Regions from separate parts of the Homo sapiens genome. Here region 2 is linked to region 1. Evidence: promoter capture Hi-C in human tissues and cell types (Jung and others, 2019). All regions are on one chromosome and are shown on one strand. The core of a region is centred on a gene start or on the middle of the fragment in contact, and the rest is flanking DNA. Distances in the headings are between cores, read along the strand shown. Region 1 holds the start of B4GALT7 (beta-1,4-galactosyltransferase 7). Region 2 has its middle 56 kb from the start of B4GALT7.

Region 1 (6,105 bases), core at 2,135-4,634:
AGATGGGAGATGGAGAGGGAAAGAAAGATGAGGGCTGGGTACAGCACAGGCACTGATTTCAGAAACTGGAAAAACAGCTGAACATCACAGACACTGGGGTGATGCCAGGAGACAGCCTTTTGGTTAGCAAATACAAAGAAACAGAATTCACCAGATTCCTTTGCCGCTCCTCTGGAAGTTCCTGAGTATGCTGAGACAGGAGCTGAGGAATCCATGAAGGGAGAAGCTTCCTCTGTACTCCCCCTACCTTCTCCCCAAAGTAATCTGCAAAGGAATCCACTTCACAATCTTAAGAGTCAGCGATTAGCTATCAGGTCTTATAAATTCTATCTCCTGGCCAGGCGTGGTGGCTCACGCCTGTAATCCCAGCACTTTGGGAGGCCGAGGCAGGTGCATCACGAGGTCAGGAGCTCAAGACCAGCCTGGCAAATATGGTAACACCCCATCTCTACTAAAAATACAAAAATTAGCTGGGTGTGGTGGTACGCGCCTATAGTCCCAGCTACTTGGGAGGCTGAGGCAGAAGCATAGCTTGAATCTGGGAGGCGGAGGTTGCAGTGAGCTGAGATCACGCCACTGCACTCCAGCCTGGGCAACAGAGCGAGACTCCATCTCATAAATAAATAAATAAATAAATAAATTCTATCTCCTAAGTCCCCCTCTGATCCTTCCTCACTCATCTGTTCCTTGCCCTGCTCAGACCCCTTCAGTCTTCTGAATGACCCTCCTCTGTTTGCCAGACAAAGGCCAAGCCCTTTGGCCTGACAGTCAAAGCCCTCCATGACCTGGCCCCAACTCCAGGTGCTCCCAAGCCTTCGCCCCATGTTCTCATGTTGGGCACCTCGGAGCTTCTCCACTTGCTATATTCCTTCCTGCTCCAGCCCTCACACAGCCTGCTCCTTCTGCCTGAAATGTCCTTCTTTATCTGCCTGAGGACCCCTGTTGATCCTTCAGAGCCGAACTCCAATGTCATGGCCAGCACTGCCCCCTGCCCCCATAATGCTCCCACTTTTGTATTCCCACGGCATCTTCCCACTTTTTTGTAATGCCTTGTGTCCTTGCTTCTCAGGCCGTGTCAGATTCTTATCTGTGGCCCCAGCACAGCAAGCACAGGCCAGACAGCAGAGAGCTTGCCAAGTGAGTTACAGAAAGGGGTAAGGCAGTCAGGGCATGCCTTAAGTCACATGCTAAAGCCAGACCAACTCCTCCCTTTTTCTAGAGAGACCGCCAACCTGGAAGCCAGTAGCCTTGCAGCCAGGCCCAGGTTCCACACGCAGCTGAGAGGTGGCCTGGTAGGAAACCCCCCAGGGCTTCTGACTTACCCCCCATTATCCTGTGGTGGTGGATTCAGCTGGGGAGGAGCACAGCCCAGTCCTGAGAGTGGTCTGGGAAGGCTGGAACCTCTACAGATTCTCCCTTGCCCTCTGGGCTTTTTCTGGGGACAGGGTAGAGACTGGAGAGATGGATATGGGGTGATATCCCACCTTCATGAAAAGAAGCAGTGACTATTATCCAGGGGAACGGCGTGGACTGGGTACTCCGAGCACGTCCACACGCTAATTCCCTCGGCCCTGCTCCCCTCTCCTATGAGGACCACATCCCCATGGGCATCATCCTGTGCTCTAAGAGCACAAACCGCAGAGCAACTGGATTGAACCCAGAGTCCCAATTCCTCAGGACAGTGGACACCGAGAACAATTGTTCCTGGTGCCACCAGGTGGCAAACCAGATTTGCAGTCCCAGTGGCTCCCAGGCCCAGGCCACCCTGGCTCTGAGGGGCAGTCCAGAAGAGGCTTTGTCTCCCTCATCAATCACTGCCCAAGACTAGTAAAAGGCGGATTCAAACCCAGGCAGGCTGGCTCCAGAGCCTACACTAGATAGCTACACTAGCCTGCATCAGTTGCGTGGATCTTTGCACCAACCCTGTGTCAAAAGCACAGAATTGACATCAGTAAATTTCTCTGGAAACAGCTATGGAAAAGGATCAGGAAATAGAAATGCTCCTCTGTTACCTTTCCTTTCTTGTCTCATACAGACCTTCGTACTACGAGGTTTGAATCCTCAGCTGCTCTGGTTACAGGACCTCAAAACTGCAAAGGTAACGGGAAGACAACTGGCACCTCCTGTTGTGCTAGGCAGTGCCATGCTCTTTACATGTGTGCGGTCCTTTAATCCTCACACAGCCCTGCAGAGCCAATACTGTCATAACTGGCTCAGTGACGGAAAGGCTGCGGTCGGACAGATGCAGGGGTCTCTGCTCACATAATTACGGAGGACTCCTGCCCAGGTCGAACGCTAGTCCACGCTTTCTATTATATTCCTGTTTTCCCCTTTCAACACCAAGTCTGAAAAATCCCCAAAAGTACAAGTTGTGGCCACTAAATTCCAGAATCTTATGGCACCTGACGGACTTAAGAAACATGAAGGAAATGAGGTGTCATTCACGAGGAGGAGATCCAGTCATGTGTTCTGTGAGAAGACTTACAGGGACACATCTCAAGTGCCCCACGAATGGAGGCAGTCAAATCGCTTTCCCCATTCTGCTTTAGTGAGAAACAAAATTAGCTAAGGTGTGGGCCAAGCTCGCATCTTTCACGTAGGGCCAATACAGCTGCACAGGAAATGGACTAATGCGTGTATAAGGAGTGTCTAGTACGTGCCAGGCAGTGACCAGCCAGGCAGAGCACGGAGCTTCTGTCTGGTGGGTTCTGCTGGTGGCCTGCGAAGGATGGGGGGAAGTGTTAAGGAGGAAGGGTAGGGTCTGAGGCTATATGGATGTGATGAGGAAGGCAGAGACCAGAGAAACGGAATACACGTCCTCAGGGATCAGAGACAAATTGAGAAACACAAATCCATGGTGAGAGGTCAGCGGAGTCAGAGACCCGCATGCAGATAGAGGGAGGCTGGTGGAGAAACACAGACACAACGAAACACATAACGAGAGAGACTAGCAAAGAGGGGATCAGAAACTCACAAAGGGAAGTCAATGGAGAAATACGGACCCACGGGCCGGGGGGAAGGTGCTGGGGGAAGGACGAGTGCCGCGGAAAGGGAGAGGGGGCGGGGGAGGCAGAGACCCACAGGGACAGACAGAAACCGGAACAGAGCGCCAGGGACCCACAGGGAGAACCACACGCCCTCACAGAAACCCGCAGACATGGAGACGTGATGGCCTCGGGTTCCCAGATTCCGCCGGCGGCCGAGAAGGGAGCGGCGCCCGGGAGGACGGGGCCCGGGCCCACCGCCGCCGCTCACCTGCCGTCCTCCCAGGGCAGCTGCGCCGCTTTCCTCCGCGAGGGGAACATCGTGCGGAGAGGCGGCGGCGCATGGGGCAGGCGCTCGCAGCCCGGCCGGCCCGGCCTCCCGGGCCTACGCGGCGCCTCCGCCTCCCGCTCCGCCCAGGCCTGTCCGCCCCGCCCCCCGGTCCGCCGGGTCCGCCGCTCCGGCCGCGCCGCCAGCTCCCGGAGCCGCCGCCTCCAAGGTTCTGCTTGCGAGCAGCGCGGGCGCGCCTCCCTCTCTGGGCGGCTCCTTCCTAGCCGCCCCGGGACCCGCCTGGAAGCCCGAGAAACTGAAGCCCAGAGGCCCAGGGCCTCCCAACAAATCACTGGGCTGGGACTGGACCTAAGAGTCCAGACTCCCAAACCAACGCTCGGGGAGAATCTGCATCTCCGTCCTCTTTCCGAGGGGAGGCGGGAGCGTCCCGGGGTCCCCGTCTCGGCCCAGGCGGCGCGTTCTCCGCGCAAGCTTGGAGGGGCAAAGCCAAGCTCACGGCTCGGCGCTGAGTTCAGCTGACAGCCCGCGCAGGCGTTAGGAGCCGAGCCCTGAAGACAAGTTGACTGAATTTGAAACCCGACTCTGCTTGCCGGGCGCGGTGGCTCACGCCTGTAATCCCAGCACTTTGGGAGGCCGAGGCGGGCGGATCACGAGGTCAGGAGAGCGAGACCATCCTGGCTAACACGGTGAAACCCCGTCTCTACTAAAAATACAAAAAATTAGCCGGGCGTGGTGGCGGGCGCCTGTTAGTCCCAGCTACTCGGGAGGCTGAGGCAGGAGCATGGTGTGAACCCAGGAGGCGGAGCTTGCAGTGAGTCGAGATCGCACCACTGCACTCCAGCCTGGGTGACAGGGCGAGACTCCGTCAAAAAAAAAAGAAAAGAAAAAGAAAAAGAAACTAGACTCTGCCAATTCAGCTGTGTTTTGACCAAGCCACATCTCTGCATCTGTTTCCTCACCTGGGTATATCAATGGCTCCTATTCTATATGGTAGCTGTGGGGATTCAAGGAGAAAGTGCAAACACTTGTGCAGCGCTAGGCACACAGTTCAACGCCATATAAATGACAGCTGTCATCCAGGAAAAGGGTACTTTGGTGGAGCTGAGAACTGAAGAAGGGAATAGGAGACTGAGTTCCCATATCTGCCCCGTCACCGTGGGAACTTAACCATCCCCCTCACCCCCAGCCCCCCCACCCCTCCTACTAGCCTCCTACCTGGGGAAAGAAAGCGGCAATTGTTAGACTTGACCTCCTCTGCTCTTCCAGGCAAACTTTTAAGTTTCCTAATAGATAGCAAACATCTATTAAGTTCTTATTATGTGCCAGTCATTGTTAATAGTTCTTACTACATGAGGGTTATCTCACGTAGTCCTTATCGGTAGGTGCTTATCCCCAAGTTAAAATTGAGAGAACTGAGGCACAGAGAGGCAAATCAGGTAGTTTGGTTGCAAATCTATGGGTTTGGGGTTTTTGTTTTGTTCTTCCCCACAATCTATGATCTTAATCACTCTGCTCCAGAGAGAACTTCACCGTGGGTGGGAAATGAATCATTCCCAGTAACCCCTTTACCCCGTAAACCTGGAAGTATATAATCCACCCATTCCCCTTCCTGTTGACTCCCCCAGGGCACTGCATCCTACCCCAGAACCGTGGTCAATGCACAGCCCATCTAAAGGGGACCACTCCATCCGGTTAGCTGTTACTATATCAGGATGAAGCTCTACTTCAGATTGTCAGATTCACACTCTCAAGAAATCAGATCTCAAATGAAAACCCAAATTATCTAATTTTTAAATGTGATATCCAGCTAAGAGCCATGTTGATAATGACACTTCAACTCTGATCTCTTTTCTACTTTTTTATTTTATTTTATTTTATTTATTTATTTATTTTTTGAGACAGAGTCTCACTCTGTCAGTCAGGCTGGAGTGCAGTGGCACGATCTCGGCTCACTGCAACCTCTGCCTCCCGGGGTCAAGCAATTCTCCTGTCTCAGCCTTCCGAGTAGCTGGGATTACAGGCGCCTGCCACCACGCCTGGCTAATTTTTGTATTTTTAGTAGAGACGGGGTTTTACCATGTTGGCGGCTGGTCTCGAACTCCTGACCTCAGGTGATCCGCCTGCCTCTGCCTCCCAAAGTGCTGCGATTACAGGCGTGAGCCACCATGCCCAGCCTGTGGTCTCTTTTCAAAAACCCACAACTCTAGTCTAATCATGAGAAAAACATCAGACAAATCCTAGCTGAGAAATCGTACAAAATACCTGACCTGTACTCCTCAAAACAGTCAAGGAATCATCAAAAACAAGGAAGGTCTAAGAAACTGTCACAGCCAAAAGGAGCCTAAGGAGACACAGTGACTAAATGTGATGTGGAATCCTGGAACAGAAAAAGGACAGTAGGTAAAAACTAAGGAAGTCTGGATAAAGTAATGCATGATGTTACTAATAGGGAAAATGTCTTCACAATTTTTCTGCACTTTTAAAGCTGTTCTTTAAAAATACTTTTTTTTTTTTTTTTGACATGGAGACTTGCTCCGTTGCTCAGGCTGGAGTGCAGTGAAGTGATCTCGGCTCACTGCAAGCTCCGCCTCCTGGGTTCACGCCATTCTCCTGCCTCAGCCTCCCAAGGAGCTGGGACTACAGGCGCCCACCACCACGCCTGGCTAATTTTTTGTATTTTTTTTTTTTTTTTTTTTTGTAGAGATGGGGTTTCATCATGTTAGCCAGGTTGGTCTCGATCTCCTGACCTCGTGATCTGCTCGCCTTGGCCTCCCAAAGTGTTGGGGTTACAGGTGTGAGCCACCGCTCCCGGCCTTTTTTTTTTTTTTTTTT
Region 2 (6,105 bases), core at 2,068-4,567, 56 kb before region 1:
TGATGACAAAATCTCTCAGCATTTGCCTGTCTGTAAAGGATTTTATTTCTCCTTCACTTATGAAGCATAGTCTGGCTGGATATGAAATTCTGGGTTGAAAATTATTTTCTTAAGAATGTTGAATATTGGCCCCCACTCTCTTCTGGTTTGTAGGGTTTCTTCAGAGAGATCCACTGTTAGTCTGATGGGCTTCCCTTTGTGGGTAACCCGACCTTTCTCTCTGGCTGCCCTTAATATTTTTTCCTTCATTTCAACTTGGTGAATATGACGATTATGCGTCTTAGGGTTGCTCTTCTAAAGATACTCCTCGAGAATTTTTTTGTATTTTTAGTAGAGACGGAGTTTTGCAGTGTTGGCCAGCCTAGTCTCTAACTCCTGACCTCCAGTGATCCACCCACCTCAGCCTCCCGAAGTTCTGGGATTACAGGCATGAGCCACTGTGCCTGGAAATAGTTCAGTTTTGATATCCCTCAGTGCCAGGATGGACCTATCCTGGATTGTTGGTCTCATTCCATGTTGTAGGGAGTCATTGACAACTAGGAGTCAGTGTCAAAACTCTTTTAGCCATGTTTGAGCAACAAGGGAGGTTTGGAGGGAGTAGCTCTCAAGCTAAGTTTACCTGGGGTTCATTATTAAGTTTAATTTTATCAGTTCCATAGGTGTTTCCTATCACTTCAAAGTGCTGGGCCAGCATTATTCTGTTAGGCATTGTAGTTTGGCAGAATTTTAACAAGTAATAGCTACAAAGTTTAAAAAGAAAAATAGAAAGTAAAATGATAATCTCGGTTTGTGTAATAATTTTCAGCCATGAACCTAGGATTCAAGGTTCAATTAAACCTTTGAATCAATTGAATAAATCAAATGACCACGGAGAACTAGGTGACACCTTTTGTAACTGTGTGGCCTGTTTTCTTATTTTGCATATATGGGTCTCAACTTTCCCAAAGGCCATTATCTAGTTACAGCATAAAGTATTAGCAACAGCACAGAAATTTCCTTATTTAACTAATAGATAATATAGACCAATTTTATCATCTAGGATCCCATGACTGGGTGGAATTAAAGCAGAGAGAGAGCAACAGTTGTATTAGGGATGTTGCCAAGGTCACCCACTAGATGGACTAAAGGATCCCTTAAACCAGTTTCTGTCAAGTTACCAACAGAAGCTGCTGATTGTGAAATTTCAATTACACTGTTATCCTGCCAAGTGAAAAAGGTAGGATTAAGAGGAGTAGGAGTCTGATTATGTAGTCTTGTTCTAACGTCTAGGGAAAAGCTGTCTGCAGCATGAAAATGTCAACTTATTGTCCTGGTTTTCAGTTTTGAACGTCTGGTTATGGCACTGGATGGTTTGGTGAACTTTCTGTGTGACTCATCATCAGCCATGAGACTTGCCCCTTAAAATTTATCTAGTTTTAGCTTTTAGGATTTCAGGAACAGAGCAGTTCCTGTTTTTACTAATTTCATGGAAGAAAAGATGGGAGGAATCTAGAAGAATTTAAGATTTAGTTCAGTCTACCAGTGTATAACAGGAACTCAAAGACAATGCACAGGGCTATAATCTAAGAACAGATGTATTAACAGCCTTACTCACTGTAAGGCTGGGAACCCTTGAAGCCAGGCATTATATGCACATTCTCAAATATGATGCTCTAGTTAAAGCCTTGGTAATATATATAACCAATGTTTCCAACTGCATCCTGTTATAAAGAGAGAGCAAATTTTATTAAACTTATGTAAATAATTCTTGCCATAAAAAATAAGAATACTCATGGATAGTTTCTGAATTTTAGAGGAATCAAATAGGGACAAAAAAAATGTTTCCACCTTTGTTCACAAAGTATACCAAATTACTGTAAACTAATAAGTAGCTTAAGAGAAAGAAAAGGTTTCCTTAAAGCTAGAAAACAAAATATTTAAATAAAGAACCTGGCTAGGCATGGTGGCTCATGCCTGTAATCCCAGCACTTTGGGAGGCCGAGGTGAGCAGATCACCTGAGGTCAGGGGTTCGAGACCAGCCTGGCCAACATGGTGAAACACTGTCTTTACTAAAACTACAAAAATTAGCCAGCATGGTGGTGGGCATCTGTAATCCCTGCTACTCCAGAGGCTGAGGTTGCAGTGAGCTGAGATCGTGCCACTGCACTCCAGCCTGAGCAACAGAGCAAGACTCCACCTCAAAAAAAAAAAGAACCAATAATGTTTCAAATAAAAGTCATAAAAACGTTATCTTCAGGACCGGGTGCTGTGGCTCATGCCTGTAATCCCAGCACTTTGGGAGGCTGAGGCGAGCTGATCACTTGAGGACAGGAATTTGAGACCAGCCTGGCCAACATGGTGAAACCCTGTCTCTACTAAAAATACAAAAAATGAGCTGGGTGTAGTGGCGCACATTCGTAACCCCAGCTACTCTGGAGGCTGAGAAAGGAGAATCGCTTGAACCTGGAGGCAGAAGTTGTAGTGAGCCAAGATCGTGCCACTGCACTCCAGCCTGGGTGACAGAGTGAGACTGTCTTTTTTTTTTTTTTTTTTTTTTTTAAAGAAAAAGAGCTAACTTGACTTTAAAGAGATGAAATGTACATGTAAAATAAAATTTTGTTTTCTGTGAAATTTTACTTCAGAAAATATCCTGACTAAAATAAACAAATTAAAAAATGAGTACTCCTAAAAAAAAAAAAAGAAAAGAAAAGAAAGAAAGAAAGTAAGAAAGCCAAGAGCACAGAATCAGGATATACTGGAGGAAAACAACTTTTCTAGGCCTTCAAGATAGAACATTTCAGTGTCAGGCCGTTAAAGCAGAGTTAGAGCTGGAGAAAAAAAGTTACAGAAGATGAAAAAGTTAAAAGAGAATTATCACCTCACCAAACAAAAAGATATACTGTCTCAAGGAGAGAAAGTGGAAGACCAAAAGGCAGAAATGTCTGACCTGCAAATCACATGAAACAAGATACAGCAAAAGTTTAACTACTGAGATGTGAATCTGAGAAGCTTCCACAGGAAAACTCTACCTCAAAATATGAAATTACCATTCTAAATGAAGAAGATTCATTTTAAAACTGATATTAGAGAAAGGAAGACTAAAAAACAAACAAACAAAAAAGCTGCACTTCAGAAGATAGTTGAAAATTTAAGAAACAAATTTCAGAATTAGGTCAAAATCTCTTGCAAATGTTATTAAAAGCAGATCAATACTTCAAGAAAACATTGTTCTAATATAGGAGACCAAAATTTTAGTTTTCATATCAATGTGTATATAAATATATATACACACATGTATTTTTTAATTGAAGCAGTCTTTAGAAATACTTATAAGTAAGTTTCTTCTAATTATAGCCAACTTGGTCACCACAAATTTCTTTTGTAAATTCATCCTTCGCAAACTTTCCATGATATGTTTAGACCTTCTATGGCATGTTTAGACCTTCAGTTTTGTCCTTCTTTCTTAAATAGTTAGTCATTTTACTTAAGGATAAAATTTAATTTCTTGCCTTATTTCTAAGACAACAACAAATCTAAGACTTGCTGTCATTTTAAAAACACCTTTTCTAAAAAGAAACACTACCACATGAAATGCACACATTAATTATAGTATACATCCTGGTTATATATGTATTATGGAAACATTCCACATATTAGATTATAAAATATGGTGTTATCAATTGTGTCAGTCATTTTAAAACAATTATCTTTTCTCCAATTATTTGTAACATTTTTTGTTTTAGAATCTCACTGTTACCCAACCTGGAGTGCAGTGGCAGAATCATAGCTCATTGCAGCCTTGAACTCCTGGGCTCAAGTAATCTCCTGCCTCAAGTCTCCTGAGTAGGCAGGACTATAGGCAGACACCACCATGCCTGGCTAATTTTTTAAATTAATTAATTTATTTTTTGGTAGAGACAGGGTCTCACTATGTTGCCCACACTGGTCTTGAACTCCTTGCCTCAAGTGGTCCTACCACATTGGCCTCCCAAAGCACTGGGATTACAACATGTGTGAGCCACTACACCTGGCCCGTAACATATTTTTATACCAAATTATTTTATTTACTTGTGTTTCTGGGTTTTCCATTATGTTTCATTGATTTCTTTATTCAATACCATAACTTTCCTGTTTTATTTTTATAGTTTGATATATCTTTCGGGATTTCATAAAGCAGTATATGTGTTAGGCTGTTCTTGCATTACTGTAAAGAAATCCCTGAGAATACTCATCTCTCACCTTATGCAAAAAATCAATTCAAGATGGATCAAAGACTTTTATATAAAAATTTTTTAAAATTAAAAAACAAAAGAAATGCCTAAGACTGGGTAATTGATCAAGAAAAGAGCTCACAGTTCCAAAGACTGTACAGGAAGCATGGTGCCGGCATCTGTTCACCTTCTGATGAGACTTCAGGAAGCTTACAATCATGGTGGAAGGCACAGTGGGAGCTGGCACGTCACATGGAGAGAGCAAGAGAGTGAGAGTGGGGGTGCGAAGGTGCCACAGATGCAAACAACCAGATCTCGCAATAGCTCATTATTGTGAAGACAGCACCAAGCCATGAGGGATCTGCCCCCATGACCCAAACACCTCCCACCAGGCCCCACCTCTAACCTTGGGGATTACAATTCAACATATGGGGAATACATACATATGTACGTATGTGTCTCCTTACTATTTTTCCCCCCAAAAAAATGTCCTGGCTATTTGTACCCATTTGTTCCCCCAAATGAATTTTAGAATAATTTTGTCAAAGACTGCATTAGATTGTTTCTTTGGGCCGTATAATTATTTGTTGCATGGGGTTGTCCTATGCACTGTAGGATATTTAATAGCATCTCTGACCTCTACCCGCTAGATGCCTGCCAGTAGTAACCCCTCAACTTGTGACAATCAAAAATGTCTCCAGACATTGCCAAATAGCCCCTGGGTAGGGGGTAAAATTGCACCAGTTCAGAACCACTACATTAGTTTTATAAGTTAATTAAAGGAGAGTTAATGTCTTTACAATATTGTCTTTCTAAGCAGAAGTATAGTATAACTTTCATTTTATGAGATTTGCTTCTTGGTGATCAGTAAAACTATAAGACTTCCTTGGGTTTGGTGCCTTTTTATGGAGCTAGTGTTTTGATTCTGAATGACTATGTGCTATGTAGGGTTAAACATATCAATCATGGTAAGCATCACATAATAAGAATAGCTGGCATTTATGCCAGGTACCATGTCAAGTGCTTTACTTGGATTAACTCATAATCTTCACTGCAACCCCATGAGGTAGGTAGTATTATTATCCCTGTTTGGTAAATGAGGAAACTAAGGTAGCTTCAACCAGATGCTAACTAGTAGAGCAGGTTTACCACTGCTTGTCTCCATCTTTAAGATCCTGGGGCAAACTTTTTCAAACCTCATACCAGGTTTCCAAGGGAACATCAGGTGGGGATGGTAGTAGTAAACAGTTAAGTGGAAAAAAGCAAGTCACAAAATATAATTCTATTTTTTAAACGGATGGTTTTGGAAAAATAGACTCACGAGAGTTTTTTAATACAAAAATTGTTTTTTAAAACTCCTTTTTTTTTTGAGATAGAGTCTTGCTCTCTCACCCAGGCTGGAGTGCAGTGGCACAATCGCATAAGTTAGTGAACTTATTAATATAATATTCACTACAGCTGTATGGAGCTGCCATAGAATAGAAAGGAAAATTCATCTACATTTTGAATTTAATACATCAGATGTGAAATTAACTTGGGTCTTAAATCAAGTTCAGCTTCCTTGAAAGCCTGCAGATCACTTCCAACATCCCTCATTTATCCTGAGCTGTCTTTGGGAGGTTGGTGGGTCTGGCTACCCATGAAGACAAAGTGTTCCTTCCTGTCTGGTAGGGATTTAGTTTTGTATTTTTGTATTAGCTAATTTGTAAAGTGTTACCTTATTCCAGTGGGTCTTTTAATAACAGCTTTATTAAAGTATAATTCCATACCATACCATAAAATTCTCTGAGTTGTGCAGCCATCACCACTATCTAATTTTAGAACATTTACTTCACTCCAGAAGGAAACCCTGTACCCTCCAGTGGGTTCTCTGATTTGCTTATGTTTTAAAGGTACATAATCATATCATTCGAA

Evidence for each region. Contacts are between HindIII fragments. The study calls those that stand out against the background at their distance.
Region 2: a fragment that was not itself captured here is called in contact with the fragment with the promoter of B4GALT7 in region 1 in 3 of the 25 tissues and cell types used here (bladder, lymphoblastoid cells and thymus).

The regions. Positions count from the first base shown.
Region 1 is chr5:177,597,411-177,603,515 of GRCh38, reverse strand. B4GALT7 (beta-1,4-galactosyltransferase 7) reads right to left here and starts at 3,384. Exons shown (of 6, transcript NM_007255.3): 1 at 3,256-3,384. The coding sequence starts at 3,305. RefSeq lists a silencer at 3,032-3,571 and enhancers at 3,752-3,931, 4,132-4,231. The HindIII fragment of the contact is 7,199 bases long and covers 1-5,926 here.
Region 2 is chr5:177,653,125-177,659,229 of GRCh38, reverse strand. It overlaps the pseudogene SIMC1P1. Among named protein-coding and RNA genes, the nearest start is that of B4GALT7, 56 kb to the right of the region's middle. The HindIII fragment of the contact is 6,089 bases long and covers 273-6,105 here.